Regions from separate parts of the Homo sapiens genome. Here all the other regions are linked to region 2. Evidence: promoter capture Hi-C in 16 types of primary human blood cells and fetal thymus (Javierre and others, 2016). All regions are on one chromosome and are shown on one strand. Each heading gives the region's core, a stretch centred on a gene start or on the middle of the fragment in contact. The rest is flanking DNA. Distances are from core to core; before and after follow the strand shown. Region 1 overlaps SREK1 (splicing regulatory glutamic acid and lysine rich protein 1). Region 2 holds the start of CDK7 (cyclin dependent kinase 7). Region 3 overlaps MRPS27 (mitochondrial ribosomal protein S27). Region 4 overlaps TRAPPC13 (trafficking protein particle complex subunit 13).

Evidence for each region. The method cuts DNA at HindIII sites, captures the fragments that hold promoters and counts their contacts. A CHiCAGO score of 5 or more calls a contact.
Region 1: a fragment that was not itself captured here is called in contact with the fragment with the promoter of CDK7 in region 2 in 2 of 17 cell types (non-activated CD4 T cells and neutrophils); the score reaches 6.3 in non-activated CD4 T cells.
Region 3: a fragment that was not itself captured here is called in contact with the fragment with the promoter of CDK7 in region 2 in 1 of 17 cell types (activated CD4 T cells); the score reaches 5.7 in activated CD4 T cells.
Region 4: a fragment that was not itself captured here is called in contact with the fragment with the promoter of CDK7 in region 2 in 1 of 17 cell types (non-activated CD4 T cells); the score reaches 7.0 in non-activated CD4 T cells.

What each region holds. Positions count from the first base shown.
Region 1 is chr5:66,147,512-66,150,358 of GRCh38, reverse strand. All of the region lies in intron 1 of SREK1 (splicing regulatory glutamic acid and lysine rich protein 1), which reads right to left. Among named protein-coding and RNA genes, the nearest start is that of SREK1, 4.6 kb to the right of the region's middle. The HindIII fragment of the contact is 2,439 bases long and covers 168-2,606 here.
Region 2 is chr5:69,233,482-69,236,499 of GRCh38, reverse strand. It overlaps CDK7 (cyclin dependent kinase 7), which reads right to left and starts at 1,614. Exons shown (of 12, transcript NM_001799.4): 1 at 1,459-1,614; 2 at 1,047-1,106. The coding sequence starts at 1,524. RefSeq lists an enhancer at 1,364-1,892. The HindIII fragment of the contact is 18,686 bases long and covers 1-2,185 here.
Region 3 is chr5:72,304,687-72,307,816 of GRCh38, reverse strand. All of the region lies in intron 2 of MRPS27 (mitochondrial ribosomal protein S27), which reads left to right. Among named protein-coding and RNA genes, the nearest start is that of MRPS27, 14 kb to the left of the region's middle. The HindIII fragment of the contact is 2,782 bases long and covers 1-2,641 here.
Region 4 is chr5:65,651,960-65,654,807 of GRCh38, reverse strand. It overlaps TRAPPC13 (trafficking protein particle complex subunit 13), which reads right to left. Exons shown (of 13, transcript NM_024941.4): 7 at 2,263-2,307. Among named protein-coding and RNA genes, the nearest start is that of TRAPPC13, 28 kb to the right of the region's middle. The HindIII fragment of the contact is 671 bases long and covers 1,187-1,857 here.

The sequences.
Region 1 (2,847 bases), core at 138-2,637, 3.1 Mb after region 2:
CACTCTTCTTCAAGGCTCAAATTTCCAAGTCTTCTGGTAAACCATCTTAAGATACCGCAATCATTAGGTACAGCCTCCTACATGTGCTACCAAGACATTCTATATTGCTTTGGCACAGGCCTTAGCACGGTTTCCTCATGTGAAACCCTCAAAAGATCCTATAAGCTTCTCTAGCCATAAATGATTAGTCACCAGTCTCAAGGGCCCATTTCCCTGGCTGACCAGCAACCTCTAATTTTGGAAGTCAGGCTCGACCAAATGAGCTAGATCAATCAATCAGGTTCTCTCTATTGGGCTGGAAGGTGACTTACAGCAAGCTGTAAGCCAGATGATGAGTACATAATAGGTATGCAAAGAAATGGAGTAGATAGAAACAAACTGAACTGATAATAACCACTGCAGAGAAAGAAGCAGATAGTCATCTTGATTGCTGATACCCTTCTGGTTCCCAGTACTAGTTCCCATGAGGCCTGGCTGTACTACAATCTTTATTTTTCAACGCAGTGAAATCTTTCTTTTTAATAATAATGTCTCTTCTCGATGTACCTTGGGTAACACTGTTTCTGTCCTTTTTAACCAAAAACAATCTGTGATTATAATAACCTACTAAAGCCCTAGCAATTCCAACAGGAATAACTCTTTTGCCTCTGAAATCTTCAAGAGCCTGACAGTCATCTCTGAAGCAACATTTCCTAAACTGACGGATCCTTTTGTGAAGGAATGTAAATGTTAAGTAAGCACTACTGAAAACTAAAACCACATTTCCAAATACCCCTAGTTGAAATCTACTTCATTTCAAACTTAAAACATCCACAGGAATAGGAATTCTGAGTCTGGTTTGTAATGCAACTACATCTGAAGACATGCCACCAACATTTCAGAAGCCTGGGAACTGGTTAAAAAAATGTTGGTCTGTTCTGAACAGCATCATCATGGAAGTATGGATATTAGGTACGGCTACTCCACTGATTTAAGCAATTTTCTTTTCTTTTCTTTTCCTTTTTTTTTTGAGACAGAGTTTCACACTGTCACCCGAGCTGGAGTGCAATGGCGGGATCCCGGCTCACTGCAACCTCCGCCTCCCGGGTTCATGCGATTCTCCTGCCGCCTCCCAAGTAGCTGGGATAACAGGTGCACACCACCACACCCAGCTAATTTTTTGTATTTTTAGTAGAAACAAGATTTCACTATGTTGGCCAGACAGGTCTCGAACTCCTGACCTCGTGATCCGCCTGCCTCGGCTTCCCAAAGCGCTGGGATTACAGGCGTGGGCCACTGCACCCGGCCAATTTTCTTAATCTTCATTTCCAATTACCTTCCTTAAAATAAAGACCAACTTACATTTACTTTATAAAAATGCAAATATTTGAAAATTTCAGGCAAGGTAACACTATTTTATTTTGACCATTATAAACTAAAATTATTAGAGTAGCAAGCCAACAAACAGATAGCTCATCAAACAAATGTGTACTTGCTTGTGCCCAAGAGTTCAAGACCAGCCTGGGCAACAGAAGAAGACCTTGGGGGAAAAAAAAACACATAAAAAGGGATGACATATTCCATTTGGTCTAAATGTATGCATCTATAGAAACTAGCAGGCCAGGCACAGTGGCTCACATCTGTCACCCCAGCACTTTAGGATGCCAAAGCAGGCGGACTGCTTAAGCCCAGGAGTTTGAGTCCAGCCTGCGCAACATGGTGAAATCCTGTCTCTACTTAACTAAATAAATAAATAAAATTTTAGAAATAAATTTTAAGAAGAAAATAGCAGTACCCAAATTTAGCAGATTTTAGTTTGACCTCATTCGTTGACTTAAAGTTTTGGTTTTTTAAAATACAAAATCTTATCAATTTTTCAAAAAAAATTAAAACTTTTCAGTGGGTAGTACACGCAGAAACCAAAGAACCAACTTTTTGGGCATCAATTAAATTTCTTGGCCCTAACTGGTTATTTTGTCTTTTATTAAACATAATGATAGCACTATACAATATTTTTAAAACCAATGAGGTAATAATATGTCCAGTATTTTATCAGTACATTAATACACATCCTTTAGAGGACAGAGGACCTACCAAAAAAGATATGCCAAAACATGAGCGAAGCATACAGTATCATGTACAAAAATATTAGTTGGTGCATTATTTATAACAGGGTTTCTTCACTGGGCTTCAGTGGCCCTATGGATTAGCACAATTCATCCTGTTTAAGACTACTTATAAGTTGCTAACATTTACCCACTAAATGCCAACAGGCCCTCTAATCATTGTTGACAATCAAAAAGACACACCTCCCAATTTCTAGCTAAAATCCACTAATTTGTAATACCAAAAAAAGCAATCAAAATATCCAACAATAGAATTTCAAAAACACACAATACACTCAGAAATTACTAATCTCTAAATATTACTATAAATAAGACAGCAATATGGAAAATGCTTATGACAAAGTGAAAAAAGTAAAATAACAGTGTGATTCCTTTGATTACGCTATATTACATATATTACATAATGATAGCACTATACAATTATTTTTAAAACCAATGAGGTAATATGTCCAATATTTATTAACGCATGTGAAAAGGACTACAGGGAAATGGAGAGAAGCTTTGATAGAGTGGTGGGATCACAAGTGCTGTTTCCTTTTCTCTATTTTCTATAAAGTGGCTTTAGTGGTTACATTTTTTTTAACTAAATAAACTTAAGTAGTTGACAGATTTTTCCATTCTTTCTTAGAACTTTAGAAGACCAGAGAAGTGACGGAAATCAACAAGCAAAAAAAATCAACACAGGAAAAATGTCTAGTGTTACAAATCAGGGTAGGCTTACCCTTCAGGTTTTAGTTACTTG
Region 2 (3,018 bases), core at 365-2,864:
GGTTTTTGAAGCAGGAGAAGCAGATTCAAAGTAGCAACGGTAACAAAAGCAACATCAGGACACCTGGATTTAAATCCCAGCTTCAGCAATCACTAGCTGTGTGATCTTGACAAGTCACCTAGTCACTCAGTCTCAGGTACCTCAAGTATAAAATAGGGTTACTTTTAACCACTTTATAGATTGTTTTGAAGGTTAAAAGAAACAATGTAGGTGAACGTGAGTTATGTAATTATGACCCAAATCTTTTTTTTTTTTTTTTTAAGATGGAGTCTCCCTCTGTCACCAGGCTGGAGCACAGTGGCACCATCTCGGCTCATTACAACCTCCACCTCCCAGGTTCAAGTGATTCTCCTGCCTCAGCCTCCCGAGTAGCTGGGATTACAGACAGGTGCCACCACACCCAGCTAATATTTGTATTTTTAGTAGAGACAGGGTTTCACCATGTTGGCCAGGATGGTCTGGATCTCTTGACCCCAAGTGATCCGCCCACCTCGGCCTCCCAAAGTGCTGGGATTACAGGCGTGAGCCACCGCGGCTGGCCCGACCCAAGTCTTTTGAATGAATATAAGAAGCTACTGAATCCGACCCAGGTCTTTTGAATGAATATAAGAAGCTACTGAACTCATTTTAGACCTCACATCAATGTTGTTCATGCTAGTGAAAGTCTTTCATGGTAAATCCGTACACAGAAAATACAGATACGACACACTGAGTGGATGCAGGTGAGGTATAAACAGTGACCTAGAAAGATCATGGTATCCAATAGTTCTGAGGACCGAAAAGATGGGCAGTACTTGCCCACAACATATGAATTTATGCAGTAAAAATAACATACAGCTTCTTCTTCATTTCAATAGAAATTAAAACGGGTTCAACCCTAGAGTTCCGTTTGGGAACACAAAGCACTAATTAATTATTTTGTCTCTGAAAATGACATGAGTAACTCATTATCAGAGTATGGTCAAGACTAATAAAATGGCTATCAGTCAATTAATAATACAGACATCTTCAAGGAGACTTAAAAACAACATAAAAAGGTAACTCACTTTCTTAATGGCGACAATTTGGTTGGTGTTCTTATCTCTGGCCTTGTAAACGGTGGCAAACTAGAAAGAAAAATAGAAATAACATAAGTTTATGGGAGTTTTTGTGTTTGCCTTTTTGCATTTTTACATTTCGCGAAGCAAAGAGCCCAGAGTTCCTGAGCAGACTCGCGGCGGCTGGAAACGTGGCGGGTCAGTCTCCGTCCAGCTCCAGGCTACTCTTCAGCAAGGAGAGGCCCCTCAGGGATTCACCCCCAGGATGTAAAGAATGGGCAGCAAGTGCGTCTGGACGGTTTCCCCCAACGAGAACGAGCAGCCAAGCCAGACCTCTGGCCTCCACGGGAAAACCCGCAAAGGTGGAGGCGGCGCGGGGCTGTCCGCTTGGGGCCCTCCCCGTCCTTCCAGAGAGCCTCACCTGTCCCTCCCCAAGGAAGTCCAGCTTCTCATAACGCTTTGCCCGAGACTTCACGTCCAGAGCCATCCGGCGCCGTAAAGCCCGACTCCAGCCGAAAAGGGCGAGCTCCCAGGACAACACGAATTTAAAGCTACCTTAAAGCCTCCAACACCCACTTCCGTCCACCGGGCTCCGTCGCTTTAGTATCCCCGCCTCACTTCCGTGGTGGGCGGAGGAAGCTGCGCTAGGCCCAGGCGGTTGGCGTTCCCCACCCGTCACGTGACGCCTGTCGGTGCCTGAAGTGGGGCATCTTCAATGGCTGCTGTGTCACTCTGTTGCCGTTTTAACTTGGGTGTTTTCTACATTACCAGGAACTGGTCAGCGTTCTAATTTGGTGTTCCATGTTCGGGGTTTGGTAGGTGTCTGTGAATGTAGAAAGTTTGGCCTTGTACCTGTTCTCGCTTTTTGGTTCTTGCTCGAGCGCGTCCTGTCGCCGTGGTTGCTATGGACGCCAAACCCTGCTATCTCAGATTACTGAGACGAGTGCCAAGTTCTTACGGGCTGGTCAAGAGTATTCTTAGTCCAGTCCCTTTATGAAGAAGCAGGCCCAGGAAAACAAAATCCAACTCAACTGAAACGTGCTGTGGGAATCAGCTTCTAGTCCTCAGTTTTCTACTCGGTAAAATGGAAAAAATAATGAACTACATCACAGGAGATTGTGGGTATTAAATGAAACATGCAGAAAGCTTAGACATTAACTCAATTAATTGAGACAGTGCTCAATTAACTTAGCAGTAATGAGTACCCAACCCCTTGATTATCATAAATTGTCATAACAAACACACTAATTCATTTATTCAAAAACATATTGAGTGCTTTTCCTTTTTCATTTTTCTCTCTCTTAGGATGCTGATATTGAGTGTTATCTATGTGCCAAGCACCATTGTAGAATCTGAGATAGCAGGGAGCAAAGATCCCTGCCTTCCAATGGGAGGAGATAAAAAAACAAGTCAAATATGTGTTATGATACATAGGTGATAAGTGCTATAGAGATAATAAAGCAGATAAAGGATAACAAATCAGGGCAGGGGCAGGGATGGAGGTTTTAAATAGGGTGGTACAAGAAAGTCATCACTGAAAACCCACTGGAGGGATTGGAGCAGACAAGTGATATGACCTGACTCACTTTTAAAAGGTTCACTCTTGCTGTTGGGAGACTATATTATAGATTTTGAGGGACAAGAAAAAGAAAGAAGGCCTATTAGAGAACTATTGCAGTAATCCAGATGGCTCTACTAGTGGATAATTAAAAGTTTCTGAGCCAGAGCAGCTGTCAACATGGAAATGTGCCCCCCTCCCCCTGCCTTTGTTTGTTTGTTTGTTTTTGAGACAGTCTCACTCTGTTGCTCAGGCTGGAGTACGCTGGCCCGATCTGAGCTCACTGCAACCTCTGCCTCCTGGGTTCAAGCGATTCTCCTGCCTCAGCTTCCCGATTAGCTGGGATTACTGGCCTGCTCCACCACACCCAGCTAATTTTTGTATTTTTAGTAGAGACGGGGTTTCACCTTGTTGGCCAGGCTG
Region 3 (3,130 bases), core at 1-2,500, 3.1 Mb before region 2:
TGATGAATTACCACAAAGCGAGTAAACCTGTGTAGGAAGCAAGAGCATTCCTACCGCTCCAGAAGCCCTTATTGCGGCCCCCACTTAGTCTCTCCAAAGGTAACCGGTATCCTGACTTCTAACGCCACAGATTTTTTTTTTTTAGTGTTTTAACATTTGAAGGTGTAGACACCTTGGTATAAGGAGCCCCCTTTACCCATCACCTGGCTTCAACAATTATCAGCTCTTAGTCTTTATTTTATCTTTATTACTGTTTCCCCATCCCGATGCTTTGGATAATTTTGAAGGAGATCCCAGGCAGTAAGTCATTTCATCCGTAAATATTTTGATACAGATCTCCAAAAGACAAGGGTGCTTTTCAATACCATTATCACACCTAAAATATTAATAGGGTTGTAAATATCACGAAATATCCAGTTAGTGTTCAGATATCCCTGATACTCTCTTTCTTATTTTATTTTATTTTCTTAGAGCCTTGCTCTTGTCGCCCAGGTTGGAGTGCAATGGCACGATCTCAGCTCGCTTAAACCTCCTCCTCCCAGGTTCAAGCGATTCTCCTGCCTCAGCCTCCCGAGAAGCTGGGATTACAGGCGCCCGCCACCATGCCCGGCTAATTTTTGTATTTTTAGCAGAGATGGGGTCTTGCCTTTTTGGTCATGCTGGTCTCGAACTCGTGACCTCGTGATCCGCCCACCTCGGCCTCCCCAAGTGCTGGGATTACAGGCGTGAGCCACCGCTCCTGGCTCAGGTATCCCTGATACTCTCAAATTTTTTTTTTTATGATTTGGTTGAATCAGGATTCAAATAAAGCCTCGTATAATACAATTGGTTGCTATGTGCCCCCGTTAACTCTTTCTGAATCTTTTTAATAGAAACATACAGAAGTAGAGAGAGTAGAATAAACCCCTGTGTACTGTCACCCAGCTCCAGCAATTATCAATTCCCTACCAGTGTTGTTTCATCAACTCCCCACCTGTTCACCAGATTACTTTTTAACAAACTTAATTATCGGGGTTTTTTTATATGTACTTTGATATGTACCTCTAAAAGATAAGGATTTTTAAAAACGTAATTAATCATACTATTCTAAAAAACTAGTACTTCTGTAATATTAAATATTCCATTAATGTTCACATTTTCCCAAATGTCTTATAAATTTCTTTTTAATTTAGTTTGTTGAAATGTGATCTAGATAAGGTCCATACCTTGCAATGTGTTGAGTTGTCTCAACTATCTTAGTTTGTAAGTTTTTTGCAATTTATTTATTGAACAAAACAGGTCTTTTTTGGAGTTTCCCACATTCTAGATTTGCTGATTTCATCCTTATTGTGGTGTTTAGCGTGCTCCTCTGCCTTCCATATGTCTTGTGAAACTGGTAGTTGGAGAAAGGGGCTTGATCAGATTCAGGACTTTTTATTTTGTCTTTTGGTATAAATACTTCATAGTAAGTGTTTACTTGTGTCAGTAAGCACACAGCATTTGATTGCCCCTCTGCGAAGTTAAAGGCCATTCATGATCTTTACTTAGATTTGTTATTTCATTTGAAGCTGCATACTATTGCTGTTTAAATTTTATCATTTCTTTTCATTTATTATCTAGGAAATTTTTATGACAGAACTTCCATTCATCAACAGTTTACTTACCCTGAAATAGTTTGTATATGAGTTAGCTTTCAAAATAACTTGCAAAAATGATGAATGAGGACTTCTTAAAATGTCATTAAGAACTCATAGATTTAAATAATTGAGACATTTTAATCCATTGCTGTTGATACTTTTATTGATAGGGCCATAGTTCAACTGTGCTCTGTAGAGCCCTGGGCTTTCCTACTTCAATCAGATTTCAACTTTTGATTGTTTCTGTACTGGGCTTCCCTTTGGCTAAAATAAACACTGAGTTAAAGCATTGTCTCTGGAATTCCTCCACTAACTTGCTGATTTGTTGGGGAGGTACAGGGTAAAAGTTATCAACATTTACTAGTTAACAGAATAGGATCCACTGTGAACAGGACTCAGGAGAAAACCACTGGGGAACTGGGTAGGGTGTTGGTAGGAGGGCAGGCCTCATGGGGAAGCTCCTTGAGTTCCATGAGAGGAAGTTTTCTTGAGTCTTTCTGACAAGGAGCGAGCACTCAGGTGACTTGAGCTGAATTCAGGATTCATGAGCCCTACTGGATTAAATATTTTATTTGTGATTTTTCACATCACAAAGTATAGGACACATTTTGGTTTGGGTTACTGTTTTGCTTGTTTGTGTTGGTTTCTCTTGGTTTGTTGGTTTGTTTTCTGTTGGTTTGTTTTTGGAGAACCTCCTTTTTGAATCCAAAGAGTATTTCCTTGACACATTTGCATTCAGGTCTGTCTCTTACAGACACTTCTTCCATTTTAGCTGAGATTTAGTTTTGCTGTGTCATTTCAGCTGTAGAGGCCTTTGGCTTTTTGCATGAATATTTCAGATCCTGCTCTTGAGGCCTGATGGAGATTTTCTGAAGTCTGCTTTCTTAACTTTTGTCAGTTCTGTATTTGCATCTCTGTGGCATCTATTCATTTTCCAGTTTCCATATTTGCCAAGTTCTAGAGATGGGTCTGACTTGTGCACATCACCGTTCTTTAGTCTCATTAATATATATGTACACAAAGCTTGATTTCATGTTTTTCCTTTATTGGATTTATTTATGTTAAAGCTTCTGGTGACAGACAAATAGAAGGAAGTCTAAAAATCTATGTCCAAATTGGTTGCTAGGCTAGTTTTCCATACTTCCTTCTGTATATTCAATGCATGATATATGTCATGTGTCCTCGTTTTTCTTTTAAAATGTGGGAAACAAAAACAGTTTCAGCCTGTATTTTTCAAGATCAGTTCTTCTAGGAAGGACAATAATAATCTGTACCTGTTTCTTTATTATATAAATTAGGTAAGGTATGCAGATGACCATAAGCCCAGAAAGAGTTTAGTGTTGCCTGAAAGGTTAACAGTAATGTGCAGTTATGTAGAAAAGAAAAACTGAAACCATTTCTCACCTGAAGCTAGAAGGATTCAATAAAGGATTCATATTTTTCTTCAGTGACCTTCATTATCACAACTTTGCCCCAGAGACCACACTCTTTTTTAAGAGGCTTGTTTTTCAACA
Region 4 (2,848 bases), core at 273-2,772, 3.6 Mb after region 2:
TCACCAATCTGCCTGCAAGGCTTTTCTATCTTAGAAGACTATAACAAAGTTTCTCATGAACTTGTTTTCCTTTAGGTGATTCACATATTACAGCATTATTAGAAACAGTATCAAAATATATGTTTGAGACAGATGTGGGGCCAATAATATTAACTGTAAAAGGACTACAGCACAGAGCAATAAGCATCACTTACTGATATTACTGTGGTTTATTAACTCCTACAATCTACCTGAAATTCCTGGTTGGGGTCAACATAATCTGCCTCATGCTAGTGGCTGAACAGTATTTGTTTGTCTAATAGGTAATATTAAGTATCTTAGAGAGACCCAAAATGCTATTTGTTCACTCCTGATTTTTAAAGTGAGATCTATTTTCAAAAGTTCAGAATATTACTGAAATTATTTTGATTGAAGTTTGTTAGCAAGATTTAAAGATTATGTCAACATATAATGTTAACTGACAAAGGAAGCAAACAAAATTGTCGTGATTATAAAAATAGAATATTATATATAAGTGAATAAAGACTGCAAAAGAGTATGTATAATGAAAAATCAATTGGTGTGGTGGAATTGTGAATTTTTATTTCTTTATGGAGAGCATGTCACTTCTATAATGTTTATAGAAAAACTAGCAATTTTTAAAATTATTCACAAATCACTCTGAATATTAGCGTTATAAAACTAATTTACAGGTATCTTAGTGTACTACCATATTTTTAATGAAGAAAACCTAAAATAACTGAATATGTGACTCCTAGGAGCCAGTTACAGAAAATAACCCACCTATTGCCCTATTTTAAATTAATTTTCTAACAGAATAGTTAACATTTTCCCCTCATACTATAAATGAAATCTTTTCCAGCAAAAATTAGACTATTTAAATCTCACCATGCTGACTAGCTATACTGTAATTAATCAACAGTGTGGTATTAATAACAAAAAAGAGGGAATAAATGCGTATTACTCCAACTCACCTATCCCCCACAAAAGAAACATCAACTTTGTAAACATCTAGTAATCTTGATGATGCTTTTCCCTCTCGTCAAATAGGTATGCTCTTTCCTATGTACTTGATACTTCATGTCCATTTGTAACCCTGCTTGAATGCCTTCACTGCTTTGACACTTGTTTCCAACCTGCATTCCTTTCAGACTCCAATCCAGTTTTCCTTCTCTTCCATAAAGCTTCTTTAAACTATTCCAAGATCACATTCCCGAGAGCTCTTGCAGCACATCTTTTCGTATCATTCTCACTATATTCCATTCTAGGTAGTTTTGTTATTACATGCATTTTTTCTTTTCTCCTAATAGGTCTTTGCTGCAGGTTAGGTTCCTTAACTTTGACATCTTAGAAATCCTAGTTATAGTATAAATTTTACTGAGTAAAAATTCAGATTGTGGATGGTAAAAATAAATACCGAATTTGCCATGTGATTAAAAATGTCTGATCATTATCTGGTTTTAGAGTAGCAGAGATATAATCTTCATTTCAAAATACTGTATTTGGATATCTTTGAATTTATCACTGGTATGAAACACAAGATTTTGGGGCATAAGAGGGCTAGCAAGAGATCTGATTTTTCTGCAGCTCTAGAAGCCAAGATAAAACAGAATCTTAGAAAAGAAATCCAAGCAATAAATCCTTTCTCCTATGGCAAGTTCTTTTTTTTTTTTGGGCAAGTTCTATTTTATCTCTTTTTTTTTAGGGTAAAAGATAGAGTATCTTCTATTATAAGTTACTTCTCTTTTTGCCAAATTTGTTTTTCCCAAGGAGCTTTTAAAGCCATTACACCAAACTCAGCAACCTAATTCTGGCTGGCAAACTGACTACCCTGGAAATAATTTAATGTGCTAAGCTTCACTTGTCAGTATTTTTCCATGTGAATATTAAATCTATTTTGCAGCGTTAGATCTACTAATTCAATTTTTGTAAAATCCCGAACCACATGTAAATATTCAACAGATTGCTAGTGTAACAACCACCATTAAATGGAATGAGAGGGCAATCATTTAACGAAAGGAGATGAAAGCCTTATAAAATTAACGAGAATAAAAATCAAGACACATTGATTCCATGTAAGCTGAAAAAGATTATGAGACCTATAATAAAATTATTCAATTTTAACTGAAATTTGTGATTTTTTCAAATAATTTACAGTCACGTTGGCGATTTGCTTCAGTATTAGAAATGTATATAAGAGATTTTTAGTCAAATACGATCTTAATGTTTAATATGAAATCCCATTAAACACTCAACACTTACCTCTGCATTGTAAAATTTGGTTTTCACATCCAATGGTTTGAGAACCTGGTTAAATAAAGCATATCAATCAGGAGATTGTTATCATGTGACCATTTATTTATTTATTTAAATCAAATAGTGTAAGTTTGTCAGTCATTTTCCAATTTTAATTGTTAAAAGACTTTTCTAATAGGTATGCAATATTCTTCCAAAAAAAAAAAAAAAAAGAAAAGAAAAAAGAATCCCTAATGTATTTTTTGAGAGGCTACCATTATTTCTTGACTGGGTGATAATTACATTACATGGGTTTTTGCTCCATAATATTTTGTTAAACCAAACACATACATTTTATGTATTTTTCTATATCTATATTCACAAAAACTGTTTGCAAAAAAAAGCAACTGAGCTGGGTGCAGTGGCTCACTCCTGTAATCCCAGCACTTTTAGAGGCCAAGGCAGGCGGATCACCTGAGGTCAGGAGTCGAGACAAGCCTGGCCAACATGGCAAAACCCCGTCTGTACTAAAAATACAAAAATTAACTGGGCGTGGTGGCGGGTGCCTGTAATCCCAGCTACTCGGGAGGCTGAGGCAGGAGAATCGCTTGCA